Linked DNA regions of Homo sapiens: regions 1 and 3 are each linked to region 2. Evidence: promoter capture Hi-C in human tissues and cell types (Jung and others, 2019). All regions are on one chromosome and are shown on one strand. The core of a region is centred on a gene start or on the middle of the fragment in contact, and the rest is flanking DNA. Distances in the headings are between cores, read along the strand shown. Region 1 has its middle 55 kb from the start of SLCO1B3. Region 2 holds the start of SLCO1C1 (solute carrier organic anion transporter family member 1C1). Region 3 overlaps SLCO1C1 (solute carrier organic anion transporter family member 1C1).

Evidence for each region. The method cuts DNA at HindIII sites, captures the fragments that hold promoters and counts their contacts. A contact is called where the count stands out against the background at its distance.
Region 1: a contact is called between a fragment that was not itself captured here and the fragment with the promoter of SLCO1C1 in region 2, in 4 of the 25 tissues and cell types used here (dorsolateral prefrontal cortex, hippocampus, mesendoderm cells and 1 more).
Region 3: a contact is called between a fragment that was not itself captured here and the fragment with the promoter of SLCO1C1 in region 2, in 2 of the 25 tissues and cell types used here (liver and mesendoderm cells).

The regions. Positions count from the first base shown.
Region 1 is chr12:20,754,797-20,757,496 of GRCh38, reverse strand. No RefSeq gene overlaps it. Among named protein-coding and RNA genes, the nearest start is that of SLCO1B3, 55 kb to the left of the region's middle. The HindIII fragment of the contact is 7,970 bases long and covers 1-2,700 here.
Region 2 is chr12:20,694,077-20,696,786 of GRCh38, reverse strand. It overlaps SLCO1C1 (solute carrier organic anion transporter family member 1C1), which reads right to left and starts at 1,455. Exons shown (of 15, transcript NM_017435.5): 1 at 980-1,455. The HindIII fragment of the contact is 14,433 bases long and covers 1-2,710 here.
Region 3 is chr12:20,737,894-20,740,593 of GRCh38, reverse strand. SLCO1C1 (solute carrier organic anion transporter family member 1C1) reads right to left here. Exons shown (of 15, transcript NM_017435.5): 12 at 226-410. Among named protein-coding and RNA genes, the nearest start is that of SLCO1C1, 44 kb to the right of the region's middle. The HindIII fragment of the contact is 7,849 bases long and covers 1-2,700 here.

The DNA of each region.
Region 1 (2,700 bases), core at 87-2,586, 61 kb before region 2:
AGTTATAAGTGTTATCATTAACTCAACATATTCCAAAATTATTTGGACAGAAAACACATTTTAATATTACACATTAATATTTAAATGTTATATGACTCTAATGCCTGATACGTAGTAGGTCCTCAATTTTTTTTTTTTTTTTTTTTTTTTTTTTTTTTTTTTTTTACCCTCTCTCATTCTGTTTTCAAGTGCTGAGCTTTCATACCATGGAGAGTGGATGGCGTTGATCTTCATGGTGATTATTCAGGCCTTTCCTAGATTAGTATGACTACAGAGCTGACTAAAAATGTTGTTCTCAACAATGTAAAAGTAAAGGTACAGTTAGCATAAAGAGGGAGATGGAAGAGGGTTTGAAGACCTGGAGAGAAGTTAGGAAGTTCTAAGTTTTTCATTTTGCAAAATGCACATAGTGACCTCTGTACTTAGTGACCTTACTATGTACAGGTAACAGAAGAACAATGGAGGATTTGTGAGTGACATTAGTACCAATCTATCAGAGTAGACAGTCAACAGACATTGCCTAAAGTTGGTAAATCAAGAGTAGTCATATGAGTATACATTTAAAGATATGAAAGTGACCATCGAAAAAACCAACAAACAAGCCAGGCACAGTGGCTCACACCTGTAGTCCTAACTATTTGGGGGGCTGAGGCAGGAGCATGGCTTCAGCCCAGGAGTTCAAAGGCAACATAGTGAGACCCTTGTTTCTAAAAATAAACATTTTAAAAAAGAAACAGGAAAAGAAAAGCCAACAAACTAAACTAGTGAGTAGTCAGTTGTTGCCTTTGAGGAATAGAAGTCAAGGTGGGCTAGAGGTGGGTTAGAGGTCTTTGAGGAATAGAAGTCAAGGTGGGCTAGAGGACTATTACTTCTCATTTCAATTTTTTTTTTCATTTTTTAAACGATGTATATGTTTTAGTGTGTTAAAACTTTTCTAATTGCGATGTCCAAATTTTGATTTTTAGCAGAGTTAGTGAAAGCCAGTGATTTGGGATATAGATTAATGCAGGCACAACATGGCTTTTTGAAGCTGATAAACTCCAGTTTAAGTCTTTGCTCCACCAACTGCTAAAACTCACTGGCTTTGGACAAATCACTAACTCTTTAAGCCTCAGTTTGTTTATCTGAAAATATCAGTAACAATACCTTACACATAAAGCTATTTTAATCTTTAAAATTGAGAATGTCTAAGGCATTTAGCACACATACAGAGGGCACTTAATATAAATTGTTTCATTTAATATAATAGTGAATATATTATTATCAAGTATATGTCAAGTCTCAAGTATATGTCAATTTATCTCTTGAATCTCTCTTTATGTACAAGTATAGGTATGTAATATTTAAGTGTAAATTCCATAAATGCTAATGGTCACATTTCTTCCAGCAGTTTTTAGAGGCTTCAGATTGTTTTTAGTTTTTAATAGAAATCATGATGTAATGAAAGAACCCAGCATTGGCTTGCACACACCCACATTGGGGAAGTCATTTAATCCAATTTAAGTCACTCCACCTATAAAATGACATTGCTGTAGCTTTACCTGTCTGAAGGTTATAGTGAATCAGATGTTCAGTGGGGATGCTGGTCACCTTTAGGGGCCATGGCTGCAAAATAAGAGAATAATGTTGCCATTGAACTTGGAGCAATTGTGGGATCCTACACATCAATCACAGCTCTACCTCAAAAGTTTGGTCTTGGAACTGAGGGAATTTCCTTGACTTCTGAAAAGGAGTTTGGTTTAATTAAAAAATAAAGAACTAATTGTGCTTTCTGAGGCATAAAAAGTCTGCTTACCTCTGTCAAATGAGTTTACTTATCTAAAATATGAGGGTTCCTCTTAGTAAATTCAATTTCCCACTAAATGATACCCTCATTTGTTATACAGCTGAGTTTAATGTATGTAATTCCACTTTAAAATTAATGGTTGTGCATAAAAATACGCTTCCTTTAAATTGACCTTCAGTTCTTTCATAAGAAGATCATCATTTATTCATCCTTTGTGTTTTTTATTTTTCAAGTTATTCAAGAATAAATTGGAAACTCTTCTGTTTGGAAATTTACTTGTAAAGAAGTTATTTTTCAAGATATTGTGATAAAAAGCCTTGAAAAATAAAGAGCATGTAGGAGGCAGGATGAAGAATTTGAAGTTAAATTATTTCTCCACAAAGAAATCTCTTGACAAGTGTACTCCTCACCCCAATCAGTAAATATTTATTATGGGTAAGATTCATACAGGGATGACAAAAAGGATTCTTGCTCACAAGTTAGCAGGGGAGCAGCAGGTCTGAAGTAGGCCTGCTGGAAGCAAAACTGGAAATAAAAATTAAAAAGTCTTTATTTTCAAAAATAGCAAAATATAAAACAAGCATCACCAATTCAAATAAATTGACAAAGTTAATATACATTTAGAGAACATTTCCTTCTTTCTCCAACTCCAAATTTTCTATCTCCTTTTTTCCCATTCATATTTGCAAGATTGATATATAAAGGGAAAATTAAAAGAATGCAAATGATTTTGGTTGTACTGTATGATCACTTCACCTGAAGGAGCAGTGGTTTGCACCTGTAGTCCTAACCCTAGCTACTGGGGAGGCTGAAGCAGGCACATCGCTTGAGTTCAGGAATTCGAAGGCAACATAATGGGGAAACGTGAGTGAGGCTGCCATATTTTTGAGCTGGGCCTTCTTGTTGGATTTAGG
Region 2 (2,710 bases), core at 206-2,705:
ATCCTTGGGGCCTGCAGGCTCTCTCTCTTCATTTGCAACTGCAGAAGTAGAGCAAGAGTACACAGTTATTCAGAATTATTTGCATTTGGCAAATCCTTAATTGATCTCTGGCCACTTGAATAGATTCTTCCAGGAAAAGACATACGACAGTTTTCATCCAATACCCTGGGTTTGGAGCATAACTTATTCTGGAGGCCAAAGAAAAACAAGCCAAGCAGTTTCTCTTCCTTTGGTTCAAAAACATTGAATAATCAGTCCTCATTAGTTTCAAAATCAGCCCTCCAGATTTTAAATGGAGAGAGCAAGTGGCTTAGGAAGGTTGTAGTTAGATCCCGCAGATGTACTCAACCCCTCTGCTCTGCAACTGACTCGGACTCTGTCCAGCAATCAGTCCCCAAGGACTGCCACAGAGAAAGTCCTAAAGGCAACCACGCTCCTCCCTCTCTTCTCTTGGCCATCTCCTGTGAGGAAAACCTCTGTCCTGGCTTGACTTCTGGACACCAGGATGCCTCCCTTCAGACAAACTAAAAAATAGCCTCACGGCACTTGCTGCAGAGGAGTGTGTGTTGTTTAGAAACTAATTTCTCACCTAATACAAATTATCTGTGTCAGATTCAGATTTAATAAGTACTATTTTTGTGTTGAGTAATGTACGTACTTTTTCTAATCCTTAAAACAACCCAACAAACGTAATATTAGAATTCCATTTTTTAAATTAGATGGCCCAAAGCAATTAAGTGACTTGTCAAAAGCTAAACAATTTATAAGCATGAGACTCAAAATTTGAACTCAAATTTGAGTTTATCTGATTTCTTTAACCAATCTTCTCTCTTATTTCCATCAAACTAATGAGGGGATCATCACCTTTCACTGATATTTTTATGGATAAAACATAAATCGCACAGAAATTAAGGGTTAATCTCCCATAAGAATCTGATGTATTAGTCACAAAATATAAAATGAGAGAACCAAGTCTTACCTGGAGGAAGAGATCAAAGATAGCCAGTTCCTTTCAATGTGCTCAGCAAGAGGATGGACCACACACCACAGACTGAAAGAGGAAACTGAGGTAAACTCCACAGCAATTTTGAACAATTTTGCCAGGTGGGGAGAGTGTGGGTGGACACAAGCAGAGGAGATTAGGGAAAAGAAAAGATGAAGGGCATGGTCTCACCCCTGAGCGATCTCTTCTCTTTCCTCTTTCTTCCTGGCCTCTTTTTTCTGGCAGTCAGCAGAGAATTGGCCACGCTGGCAAGGCCACTGACGTGCATCTCAGCTCCCAGGGCACAGAAAGAGCTGAAGCTTTTGAGCCATTTCTTTGCAATTTGCTGCAAGTTTAAGGCCACACGTGATAAAGCTTTCTTTATGGGAGAGAGTGAATAAAAGAAAAGACCACTTGTGATCTTACTTGCTGATTCCCAGAAAACACAACTCCGCAGGGGGCAGAGGGTAAGGAACAGAAGCCAGAGGAGGGCGGAAGTTTATAACAGAGACCCCTCCTCCTTCCAGAAAGTTTTTAAGCCAACTATTCCTTAGGGACATCACTGGGATCCTTGTGTTTTCTTTGTTTGTGTGTTTTGGTTTTGGTTTGTTTTGTTTTGTCTTTAACGGTTCTTGGGCTAATTTGCTACATGGTTTTCTTTTCCATTGGTGTTCTAGAATCTTTAAGGACCAAGTATCAGGTCACAATCAAAGCTCTGCAGCGCTCTGTACAAAAAGAGTTAATTCTCAGAGACATGATCAGTTGCTCATATTTACAATTTCTATGAGTTTTGAAAACAGAAAAGAAACACGTTGAATTTTTGGCATTCAATTGTTTATTCTGCCTAATTCCAAGGATAAATAAATCCTTGCACTGAGAAAGTCCACAATTCTAATACATTCTTTTTCCAAGAGAAAAACTTTAGAGGATCTTAAGCAGTAGTAGTTTGCATTTATTTTCTACCAATAAATAAATTTGCTACCAGAATTATCCAAGATTCACCCTACTCTTAAGTGGCTGAGACTCTGGGATGGTCACTTAATTTTACTGAGTCTCAACTTCTTCCTTTGTAAAGCAGAATTTTTTTGTTTAAAAAAAAAAAAAACAGATTTATAGGGCTGTTTTAAGGATTAAATTATATAATGTATTCAAAAGCACATTGCAAATGAGCGGAAGGTATCATCATTTTATATATATATATATTTAGTTCACATAATGGTCAGAATAGTTAATATTATTCAAGCACATTTTACTACAAAAGAAAGAAAAGAAAATGCAAGAAAAATGGGTTTATATTAAACCTTGCAATGAAGCAATGGTGTTTTCACACTCTGAAAGGCCAAATATTTTACTTTAACAATCAAACCAGACTTTTCCATCGGAAATAGTGAGCAAACATCCGAATACATTGAGTGTTAGTCTAGACTTCTCAGTGTCTAACAGGTGGCCAGACCACTGTTTTATTCAAGAGGAGACAGTATTTACCAGCCCAAAGGGCATAATTTTCCTCACCAAGAAATGAAATTCTCCCTTGAGAATGTAATTTTGTCTATTCCCAACTGGCTCAGTCTCACTCTCCAACACGATTCCTTTTCTTATTTCCAGAGTCCACAGTTAATGTTACTGTTTTGAATGCACATAATGTTTACACTTATTCAGAGCTTCTTATGTGCAACCTTGCATTGGATTGTAGCCTACTTCAGCCTTTCATTCCCATTTCCAAACTCT
Region 3 (2,700 bases), core at 10-2,509, 44 kb before region 2:
CTAGACCAATAGTTTGCAAACATTTTTAACTAAGAAAACTTCTATTCAGCCACATTTTTGTATAAATACCCAAAGTGCGATATATATAAAAGTGAAACAAGGATGTGGGACAAGTTTCTTGAAAAAACTAAGAGGAATCATAGACTCCACAGAAAAAAATTTAAATCATTGCTCGAGATGATTGTGTCTTGTGTTAAAATTAGAATAGGGAGAATCAGTACTCACCTCAGAAGTAATATGTATCCAGGTATGCCACCTAGGGATAAAGTATAGGATGTGATGACTGAAATTACAAGGAAATACAGAAACATTTGGGGACATCCATTGTCTTTCTGACATCTTCCCACTATGCCTGAGGAATTTCCGGATTTAGAAGCTGCAATTCCCACACAAGTGCAGTTGTAAAATATCTGTAACACGATAGGGAAAAGTCCAATTATTTCAGTAACATTTAAATAAAGTTAAAGACAGTTATGTTAAAAATGTTTACCGTAGCCATGCATTATGTAAACAATGAGGAAATATTCTTTTATTTTTTTGTATTACAGTATATTGAGCAAAGCAAAATCTATATAGATACAACATTTCATTATCTAAAGAGCAGATGACTATCTACAAACTACTAATCCTGTACAACAATCTCCCAGCAAATCCTGCCTAATCTAACCATACCTTACCTCCTTCGCTACCACTTCCAATGCTAAGTAACCATGATTTCTTGCCTAGATTGTTACAATGCTCCCTTTATGCGCAACTTGTTTCCAATCTTATCTAGCTAGTATCTGCTTTCCACCCAGTAAGTAAAGTGAACCTTTAAACATGGCAGTCAGACTGCATCACTACCCTCAACCTGCCAGTGGTTTCTCATCATACTTGCATGAAACCCCACATCCTTATAACAGTTTACACTTTCTCCATCATGTAGCACCTGGATGCCACTCTAATCTCACCATTCAGTGATCTTCCCTCTCTTCTTCTGTGTAAGCCACACACATGACCCTTGCAAAGGCCCCATTTTGCCCTTTCCAAACATCCCCTCAAACCTGGCAAGTTCATCCATGCCTCACGGCCCTGCTATTTTCTCTGCCCGGGCAGCTCTTCTCTTCGGTGATTACACAGCTGGCGTCCATACTTTAGTTCTCCGTTTAGAGGTTTTAATAGAGACCTTCTATGACTATCCATTTAAAAAAAAAAACAAAAAAAAACAACTCCCATCTCTCCATCTTCTTATTCTAATGTATGTCTTTTTTTTACAGTGCTTCTTACTACCTATCAGGATATCCTGTATTTACTTATTTTTAAAACATACTTTCCCAACAGAATGTAACCTCCATGAAAGCAGAAACTGCTGCTTTGTTATTATGCAACTGGGGAATGGAATAGACTCTCATTTTAGGCATTTGATAAAACTTAGTTAAGTAAATGGGAACAATTTGAGGATATGACATAATTTACAGTGGCTATGAGAAAAAAATAATTCTGGTGCATAAAACTCAACTAAATTTTGACTGAAGAGAGACAATTTGTATAACCCCTCAATAGTTTATTTCTGTAAATTTTATTTATGAATGCATATATATAATGTTATCATTTTTAATCACAAAAGAGTTTGTGAGTTTTTAGACCATAAATAAAGCTGGCATTTACTTTTCTAGAAAGAGTGGCAATATAGATTTTTTGTAATGTCAAGTTGAAACCTTTGAATCTTAATTCTGGTCGCTCACTAGATAAATGAGTTAAGCAAGTCCTTTGTATCTCAGTGCCTCAGTTCTCACATGAAGAAAATACTGAAAATAATGCAAATTATTTCAGGACCATGAGATTTAAATGTAATTTTGTTCTTTTAACACCAATCTTTAACCTTTCCTTGTAATGTCTTTTATAAATGGTAGCTCTCATTACAAAAAAACCTTCATGCAGCTGTGAGCAAAAATAACAGTAGCTGAAAGAAAAATAACAAAGGAAGAAAGCAAAGAAAAGAAAAAAAGAGAAGCATGAAAACATGTTTCAGATGAGTAGGTAGTCTTATTCATTGTTGCTAGAAACCAATCCTTTCTGCTGTAAATAAGTCAAAATAATAATACAATGAACAGAGTAAATTAACAAACTTAACTGTATATCTGTGGATATACAGCCTAAGTATTCATATCCAGTTGATAAGGATATATAAATAAATGAGATACATGGGTGGTCTAATTTTCTGCCCTCTAGGATTGTCAAATAAAGGCAAATTTAATCAGTCACAAATAGAAAGCAGTCTCAGAGAGCAAGGATAAGGAAGAGTCTGTTTGGGACAGGAATGGAAAGGTGTGCTGAGAAGGGTGAATCTGTTAATGATTGAAGTACTTTACATCCTTCACAATTGCTTTCTGTTAAGGATTGAATATTTTCCCAAAATTCATATGTTGAAATCCTAACCTTCAATGTGATGGTATTTGGAGTAAAGCATTTAGGAGGTAATTAGTTCATGAGGGTGTAGCCCTCATGAATGTGATTTTAGTGCCCTTATAAGAAGAGACAGGAGACCTGTCTCTCCCTGTCTGCTCTCTGCCATGTGAGGATAAAAGGTGAAGATGGTCATCTGCAAACCAGAAAGTGGGTCCTCACTAGGAACCAGTTCTGCTGGCACCTTGATCTTGGACTTCCCATCATCCAGAACTATGAGAAATAAATGTTTGTTGTTTAAGCCACCCATTCTAT